2 separate regions of the Homo sapiens genome follow, and region 1 is linked to region 2. Evidence: promoter capture Hi-C in human tissues and cell types (Jung and others, 2019). All regions are on one chromosome and are shown on one strand. The core of a region is centred on a gene start or on the middle of the fragment in contact, and the rest is flanking DNA. Distances in the headings are between cores, read along the strand shown.

The links. Contacts are between HindIII fragments. The study calls those that stand out against the background at their distance.
Region 1: a contact is called between the fragment with the promoter of DUSP28 here and the fragment with the promoter of THAP4 in region 2, in 1 of the 25 tissues and cell types used here (H1 embryonic stem cells).

The regions. Positions count from the first base shown.
Region 1 is chr2:240,557,429-240,561,656 of GRCh38, reverse strand. It overlaps DUSP28 (dual specificity phosphatase 28), which reads right to left and starts at 1,300. Exons shown (of 2, transcript NM_001370465.2): 1 at 580-1,300; 2 at 1-327. The coding sequence starts at 972. The coding sequence ends at 190. ANKMY1 (ankyrin repeat and MYND domain containing 1) reads left to right here and starts at 3,669. Exons shown (of 18, transcript NM_001282771.3): 1 at 3,669-3,776. RefSeq lists enhancers at 82-441, 472-541, 574-715 and silencers at 812-861, 1,042-1,451, 3,510-3,729. The HindIII fragment of the contact is 5,674 bases long and covers 1-3,471 here.
Region 2 is chr2:241,633,988-241,638,407 of GRCh38, reverse strand. THAP4 (THAP domain containing 4) reads left to right here and starts at 1,250. Exons shown (of 6, transcript NM_015963.6): 1 at 1,250-1,467; 2 at 4,329-4,420. The coding sequence starts at 1,391. It overlaps ATG4B (autophagy related 4B cysteine peptidase), which reads right to left and starts at 715. Exons shown (of 13, transcript NM_013325.5): 1 at 684-715. The coding sequence starts at 693. RefSeq lists silencers at 258-397, 438-627, 648-697, 1,068-1,417, 1,448-1,517 and 1 more and an enhancer at 167-1,094. The HindIII fragment of the contact is 20,762 bases long and covers 1-4,420 here.

The DNA.
Region 1 (4,228 bases), core at 51-2,550, 1.1 Mb after region 2:
TGTATTTCTTTTTGTGTCTGTAAGATAATTTGTGCATCACCTCAGCCGGAAATATAAAATTAAAAGCACTATGTTTCACACACACACACACAAAGGAAAACTCGATATGACAGTGAGGAAGAAGGGTAAAGACCAGCCTTCTGTATCAGTGCAGGGACATCCTTCCTCCAGGCAGCAGGCCTTCAAGCTTCAAGCCTCAGGGCCCAACCCTAAGGCTGGGGGCTCTCCCTGCAGGCAGGACTGGGCCTGGAGGGCCTCCTCATACTTCTGGAGCTGAGACCAGAAGCCCGGGTTCGGTTCTGCTACCGGGCGAGCGCTCTTCACCATCTGCAAACAAGAAGTGTACTGAATAACCCCAAGTCGCGCTAATGGCCAGCAGGGGCCAAGGCGGGCCCAGCTGTAAGAGTGGGCCCCGCCCAACCCGGAAGTGCCTCTCTGCTTCCCTAAGCCCGCCCTCACGAGAGAGACCCGCCCCTCCCGGAAGTGCCTGTCCCAATCCCGAAGCCGGCCCCGCCCGGAAAACTCGTCCCCGGAAGACACGCCCCTCTCGAAACACCGCCCCCCTAAAGGCCCGCCCACCTGGAAGGCCTTCGCCAGGCTGAGGCCGCGGTGCCGCATGAGGTACGCGGTGCAGACGGCGGCCGAGCGGCTGCGGCCGTTCTTGCAGTAGACTAGGCAGGCGCCGCCGGCGCGCACCGCGGCCTCCATGGCGGCGCACGTGGGCTCCAGGTGCGCCAGCAGGTCCTCAGCCGGGTCGTCGAACACGGGCACGCGCAGCTCTGCCACGCCGGGCGCGCGCGGGCCGGGCTGCTGGCGGGAGACGTTGACGCACAGCGTGACTCCCGCGCGCGCCAGCTGCTCCTCCGCGCCCGCGGCTCGCGCGCTCCCGAGGAAGAGTGAGGGCGCGACGCGCACCAACGGTGGAGGTACGGGCGAGGCGGCCCCGCGGCGCCCAGCTTCTGCCGGTCCCATGGCGCCCGCCGAAGAGTCTGCTTTTGGGCCCTGAGGATCTATTTTGGGGGCTCAGGCGCCCGCCCAGGAGTCTATTTGTGGGAGCCGGGCGGGCCGCCGGGCGCCCCCGGGTCCTAGAGGCCTCCGAGGTGGACCAGGCTGGGGCTTGGGTCCCCCGCGGGCGCTGGGCCGGGACAGGGGGCTTGGGTCTCGTTGGGGCCGGGGCATGGCGGGAGGTTTGGGCCTCACCAGGGCGCCGGGGCCTTGGACCGCTCTGCGTCCCATGTTCTCTGTCCCCGGGCGCCGTCCTCCCCGCCCCCGCGGCCTGTGGCACTGGGCTTGCGTCTGTGGCTCTTGGGCGCAGCGCCCTGCCCGCTCTACTGCGGCGTCTGGCGCGGAGGCGTGGCTTGGCCGGGCCCGCCCACTTCGCGTCCGCGTCGTTCGGCTAGGGCCCCGTGGCTACCCGGTGCACGTGGACGGCGGGCTGCGTGGTTCCCGTGTCTTCACCCTTTCCCTAGTGACTGCGTTGTCGGCTTTACGTTTATTCCTTTTTGTGGCCCGCTTTGTAATTGGTGCATTTTTTTCTATGTATTATAACACATGGCTCATAAAATAAAACTAATTTCTATTTTCATCACTTCTTCATAGACCACACTATTCCTTTTGCTGTTTCTAAGTAATTTATTGGGGTCAGCATTGTAACTTTAAAAAATTTAATATCACTTAATGTCCATGAAATTGCCATTTAAGACTCCTTCAATTTTTCTGACATCTGGTAATTTTCAGGCAATGGATACACTGAAAAGCAACTGTCTCAACAGCCCTACAGACATTTAGCAATTGAAGTTTCAGTTGCATACAGTCTCTCTCTGGGTTATCGTCATTGCTTTGTCCATCAGCCTTCTAGCATTGGTAACTGTCAGATCTTTATTGCAGCCTGGGGTTCACTCTTGAGCTAAAGACTCAAATATGTCTGCAGCCAGGTCTTCCCTGGTTGCAGCTCCAGACATCACCTCCGTGGAGGTCTTATCAGCATCTGTTTCCCACTTCCTCCACCCTAAGGAAGGACTCCAACTTTCCTAGGATGGAGGAGTGGAATTCCCTTTTTTTCCCTGGCGTTCATGGGAGCCATTGATTAGGTTGGGACACTGTCTCCCTCCGCTTTCTAGGAGTTGGCTCTGTCTCTGGCCAAAAGTGAAGGCCACACTCCCGTGACTGCTCTGGGAATGAGCTTGGTGTCTAATAACCCATGAAGGAGAGAGCACTTTGGAAGGCTCCTCTGTTCTCTCATGGCCATAAGGGGAAGCCAGCCTTGGGTGAAAGCAGAGGAGATGGGAGAGCCAAGGTCCTTGATGCCACTGTTGGGCCACTGAAATGAATCAAACAAAACCTGAAGTCCCTCCTCCTCCTGGACTGTTTCATGAATCATCATCACCCTTTACGGTTGGAGGATGGTTGAGGTGGGTTTTCTGCTCCAAAGCCTGCTACTTGAACCATCATGCTCCCACTCCATTGAGGTAATGGATTGGGAACCAATTCATCCTAAGTGTCTCTGCATCTCATTGCCACACTTAGTCTGGGCCAGCCTCTGTCTCCTGGACTTGGTGCTAGTCCCCCACAGTGTAACCAGAATGTGCTTGCTAAGAACAGAGGGTTTCTACATGTTGGTTCTGACTCCTTAGCAAGTTGTAATTCACAACTAATGTGGGTTGTGAAATCAATTCTGTGGGTCATGATCAGCATTTTAGTTTTTAGAGAAATAATAGACTACATGAAAATATTAGAGTGCATGCATGTAGTATGCCGAACTTTTAATGAAACATTTTTCTGAGTGGTTTGTACTGGGTCGTGGTGTAAAATGAGATTTTAGAGAGAAGTGAACTCAACAGACAGGCACTGGCGTGTGGAGGCAGAGCCCCTAGAACCCCAGAATCCTGGCCCAGCCTTAGTCCTTAGTCCCCGGAAAGCTAGCCAGTGGGGAGGGCCAGGGCATCAGCTCTTCACACCCCCTGCCCTGTTCTCAGAGGCAGTCTGGGTTGAGAAAACGCAAGCCCTGCACCTCCAAGAGCCTCTCCCCTCTTTGCAGGAAGGCCCAGCTGTTTCCCACCATGGTGCCTCTGTACATCCCAGTCCAGTTCCTGAAATGCGCTCTGTAGCCTGGAGAGCTCCTGCGCATCCTGTGAAGCCCCATCAAGAATCCGCTCTCCTGCAGTCCTTCCCCGAGGCCCTCGGAGGGTCCAAGACAGCCAATCCCTCTTCTCTGCGGTGACTCTTGCGGCCTCCCTCATCTCGTTCCCTCCGCAGGCCTCGAGTTACCCTTGCGCCTTCCACATTTACTGAATGAACAAAGGCCGGGGCTGGAATCAGGCAGGGCTTGAGCAAGTCGTGGCTCCACGTGCTAGGTGATCAGGGCAAGTTAATTAACACTTGGGCCTCAGTTTCCTCAGGTGTCCCACGGCGCTCCCTGTGCCCCCATCACGGGAGTGTTGGGGGAATTTAGCGCTTTCTCTCCCAGGGGTACTCGGCCCAGGGGCTGACCGGGTAAGCGGGAGGCTGGCACCGAGGCCCGCGGGGTGTCGGCCCCAAGCCCCTGAAGTCACAGAGGGCGGGCACGCCCGGAGGCGGGGCCGGGTGCGTCCTGGCGGGGGGATTGGCGGAGCCGGAGAGTGGCAGCGGGCATGGGGCGGGGCTGTCTCCAGGGAAACGCGACGCTCTCCGTAGGCGCAGGGCTGGCAAGCAGTCGGGACGGGAGCGCGGGCGTCCGCGGTGGCTGCAGTCCCGTCGGTCTCCCTGCTGTCCGGCGCGAGCTCTTCGAGTCTTGCTTGGTGCGGTCTCGCGACAGGAGCGCTGGGAGCCGGGGCTAGGGGGATCCCGGAGCTCCGTGGGGCGGCGGGTGCGGGGGGGCGCCAGGCTCGCGGTCCCCACCCCAGGGAGGGGCCGAGGGGCTGGGGGCGTGGGGTTAGGTGGGCGCGGCGTCTCCCGAGCCCACCCTCGAGCGCTGGCTTCAGAGGCCCGTGGCTGAGACCCGCTGTTAGCGGCGCCTCCTGGGCGATAGTGGGTGCGGGCCTGGCCTGGCCACGTGGCCGCGACCGCCCTTGCTGTGATTCCCGCCCACGAAGGGACAGGGACACCTGGGGACGCGGGTGAAGTTTACCCATGGTTCCGACAGGTCTCCCTGAGGACTCCCAGGGATGGTGGTCCGGGACCTGTGGGTGGCGGCCCAGGCTCCGGCGCGGTTCAGGGAGGGGCTTGGGTTCTCTGAGGCTCAGGGGCCGCG
Region 2 (4,420 bases), core at 1-2,500:
AAAAAAACCAACACTCCCTATACACACACACACACACTCCTTCTCTTTCTCTCTCTCTTAGGACCCCAAGAAACTAAGACCCGATGATACAAATTCACTGTTTCTCTTTCTCGTCACGGAAAAGCAGCTTGGAGAATCTACTGGTTACTAAATTGAAGACAAAAACAAAAAAGATACGTATACTGTGATGAACACGTCACGTTTCTCTCCTCCAACCTACCAATAACTTCATAAAAGTTAAAGAGCTTCCATCCCTTCACGCTCAGCTGCGGAAAGGCTACGCTTTCGCCCGCCGCTCGCGTCCCCGGCCCGGACCGCGGCCGCCCCGTTCGCCGCCGCGCCTCTCCCCGCCCGGCAGGCTCCGCCGCCCTCCACGGCCGACCTGGCGCAAGGGCCTGTGCAGCCACAACCTCCGGAGCGCTCCGGACGGGACCGGAAAAGCAGAAGCTCCAGCGCAACCGACGGCGGGTTCCGCGGCGCAGTGCGCCGCCGTCCCCCTCCCGCTCCCACCGCCCACCACCCACCAACACCGCCCCGCGCTCCCGCAGCGCCCGCCGCCCCGGCCCAGCCTGGCCCGCACCGGCGTGCCCCGAGGCGAGTCGCGGCAGCCCGACCCGAGCAGGGGAGGCCAATGATAAGGCGAGCACCTCCTGCGGAAAGACCGACCCCCGGCAACTCCTCACCTGCGTCCATCTTCCCAGTCCGGCCGCCGACTGACCCGAGCGGCGTCGCTCCGACGGGCCAGCAACGCGACGCGGCGACGGGACGCCGCGGGGGCCAATAGGTGTGCCGGCGCAGGCGGCGAAGACGATACGGCGCGCGAGCGGAAATACGCGGGAGCCGCCATTTTGGCGTACGGCCGGGCCGACGCGAGCCCCGGGGCGCCCTGCGGGCGGCATGGGGTCGTGTCGTGGGACGACGGCTGGTTCTGCTGTCCGACGGGACACTGTGTGCCATGGGTGGCGCTTCCTCCTCTTAGAGGACCCAGGAGCAGTTGTCGAGGCGGCAGAGGCGAGCTCTGTCCCCGTCCGAGCAGCCATCTTGCGGTACGGACGTGCTCGGCGCGCCCATGTCGCGGTACGGACTTGCCCCGCCGGGGCGACTCCCCCGCCCGTCTGCCCGCCTGCCGACGGACGCTGCGAGGGGCCTGCGGCGCCCCGCTGGTCCGAAGACGCCCGAACCCGCGGCTGGCGAGGACGCGGGCGGGGGCTGGGGCGGGGGCGGGCCCGCTGCGGGCGCCTGCGCCTCCATCTTGCCGTACGGCGCGGACGCCGCGGGCCGGCCCACGTCCCGAGCCGTGTCGCCGCCGCGCTCCCTCCCTCGGGGCGGTCCGCGGGCGGGCGGGCGGCTAGGGCCGGGGCCTGGCTGCGCGGCTGGGCCAAGGCCCGCGATGGTGATCTGCTGTGCGGCCGTGAACTGCTCCAACCGGCAGGGAAAGGGCGAGAAGCGCGCCGTCTCCTTCCACAGGTACGCGGGCCCCGGGCCGCCACGCCCCCGCCCCGACCCGGCCCTGCGGGGAAACTGAGGCCCCGCGGCCGGCCCGAACGCGGGGGGCGGGGGCGCCGGGCCTCGGCGGCCGGGGCGCGGGGGAGCGGGCGTGGGCGCTGTGTGACCTTGGCCCGGCCGCCGTCTCTGGGCCGGGCGCCTCGGGCAGCGCAGCCGCCCCCACCCCGGCCGCCTGGGTCCGCCCTGCGCGCGATCGATCCGGCCGGCGCCTAGGCTTCAGAAGCCGCACGCTCTGGAAGCGCAGGTCCTGGGCCGATTGTCCTGCTCGGCCGCGACTGCTGACTCTCCGGACCGCGCGGGCCGTCGGCCTGGATGTCTGCGAGCAGGAGCGACCGGGCAGACGCGACCTGCGCCTCCGTAGCTGACAGCCCCCGAGAGGGCTTTCCGGGACTGGGCCCCCGAGCCCAGGACGCGGGTACGCGCGGAGAGTCTACGGGACGGCCGGCTGGGGACGGCATCCTCCTGCGCTCCCTTAGAGCCTGGCCCGGGGCTCTCGGCCGCTTCCCACGTGGGCCCCCGCGGCAGGGCCCAAACCCCTCTAAGGCCTTGTGAGTTCAGCCTATTTCAGTGAGATTTCTGCGGATTACACGCGGGAGGCACCAGAACCGCGAACAGACTTTAAAAACCACTTTGGAGATGTTTCTGTTTTATGTTGCATGGTGTTATTTAAGTTTTAAAGACGGGAATGGCACGTGTTATTTATAGGGTTATTGAAAGTTCACAGTAGTTTGCTGTAAGTCTTAAATCATTACAATGTATTATAAGAATTAGTAACATTAGATTATTTCACAAGTCAGCCAGCGCACTTTCTTGACAATTTCCTTCAGAGCTTGTGTCCTAGAAGTTTTGTTATTGTTTTTTGAAAACGAGGCAACGTGTTGCAACGGTCTAACATGGTATGGGAGGAAAGGACATCGGAATTGGGGGTGGGGGGGTACCTTTGCAGTTGGCCTCACAGTGTTCAGAAAGGAGGTTAGAAGGTCCTGTTGCTTAGAACGGCCCAGTCCATCCTGTTAGGATTTGTCCTGGTCCACACTGGCCTCAGGTGGAGCAAATAGCAGTTAGAACTGACCACCCTGTCCCTTATGTGCACATTAGGGCCTGGTTTTTTTTTCTTTTTTTCTCTTTTTTTTGAGAAGGAGTCTCCCTCTGTCGCCCAGGCTGGAGTGCATTGGTGCGATCTCGGCTCACTGCAACCCCCGCTCCTGGGTTCAAGCTATTCTCCTGCTTCAGCCTCCCAAGTAGCTGGGATTACAGGCAAGCGCCACCACGCCTGTCTAATTTTTTTGTATTTTTAGTAGAGACAGGGTTTCACCATATTGGCCAGGCTGGTCTCGAACTCTGGCCTCAAAGTCCTGACCTCAAGTGATCCACCCGCCTCGGCCTCCCAAAGTGCTGGGATTACAGGCATAAGCCACCCCGCCCGGCCCAGGCCTATGTTCTTAAACACAGAGTTTGCCTTAATGAAGAAATGGTTATGAAGGATCTTTATTAGGTAATAAAGAAATGACTAAACATCCTATTCAGTATCTTCCTGCGCTGGTTGCTTTTTTCTCACCATTTTTAAATTATGGTATAATACATGTAACATGAAATTTACCATCCTAACTTTTTTTGGAGACAGAGTCCCACTCTGTCACCCAGGCTGGAGTGCAATGGTATGACCGTAGCTCACTGCAGCCTCAGCCTCCTGGACCCAAGTGGTCCTCCCATCTCAGCCTCCAGAGTAGCTGGGATCACAGGCATGAGCCACGGCTCCCAGCCTTTCCTACCGCTTTTTCAGTGTACAATTCATGGCAACAAATACATTCACGTTGTTGTGCAGCTGTCACTACCATCCACCTCCAGAATTATTTTTATTTTGTAAAGCGGAATCTCTGGACTCATTAAACATTAATACCCCAGTCCTCCTCTCCCTAGGCTCTGGGAACCCGCATTCTCCTGTCTCTATGAATTTGATTACTCTGAGTACCTCATGTGAGTGGTATCATGCAGTGTTTGTTTTTTTGCACCTGCCCTATTTCATTCAGTATAATGTCCTCAAGGATCATCTGAGTTGGTTGATTTTTTTTGAGGGGAGAAGACCGGGTTTCACTCTGTTCCCCAGGATGGGGAGCAGTGGTGCAGTCTTAGCTCACTGTAACTTCGAATTTCTGGGCTCAAAGAACCCTCAAGCCTCAGGCTCCCAAGTAACTGGAACTGCAGGTGAGCACCATTGTGCCCTGTCCCTGGGCTGGTTGACTTTTAAAAGGAGCATTTTTACTCCTGGAGGTGGGCATGCAACAGGAACACAGAACTGTAGCTCTGGAGTCTTCTGGAGGTCTCCAGATTCTCAGCTGCTTGCGCACAGCCAGGGCTGCCTCCATGCAGTCCTGACCTCTCACGCCCTAGTGTCTGTGGATGCTGGCCCTGGTTTTGGTACCCAGAGTCCTACCTTCCAGGCAAGTTGGGAGGGTTGGTTAGCAGTCAGCTTCTAGGAGCTATTTCCTGCTGTCCTGAGGCCATCCTGGCACTGTCTGTCAGCATCCTGTGTCCCCATTGGGCATTTACCACAGCCTGGGGAGCAGTTGGTTACCTTCTTTCCCATCCGCCCTACAGACTATAAGCTCTGTATGGGTAGACAACGGGTCTTTCAGATTTCTACTCCAGTAATAACTGCAGGTAGAAGATGTTCTTTAAATCTTTTTGAAGTATTTTTTTAAGTGGATGAAGTCAATACGGCTTAGGGTGCGTGCAAAAATACTTGTTTTGCTTTTACAGTTGATTATTTTAAGGGGAGACATTTAATTATTTCTAATTACTTTTTGTCATTTGTCCTGTAGGTTCCCCCTAAAGGACTCAAAACGTCTAATCCAATGGTTAAAAGCTGTTCAGAGGGATAACTGGACTCCCACTAAGTATTCATTTCTCTGTA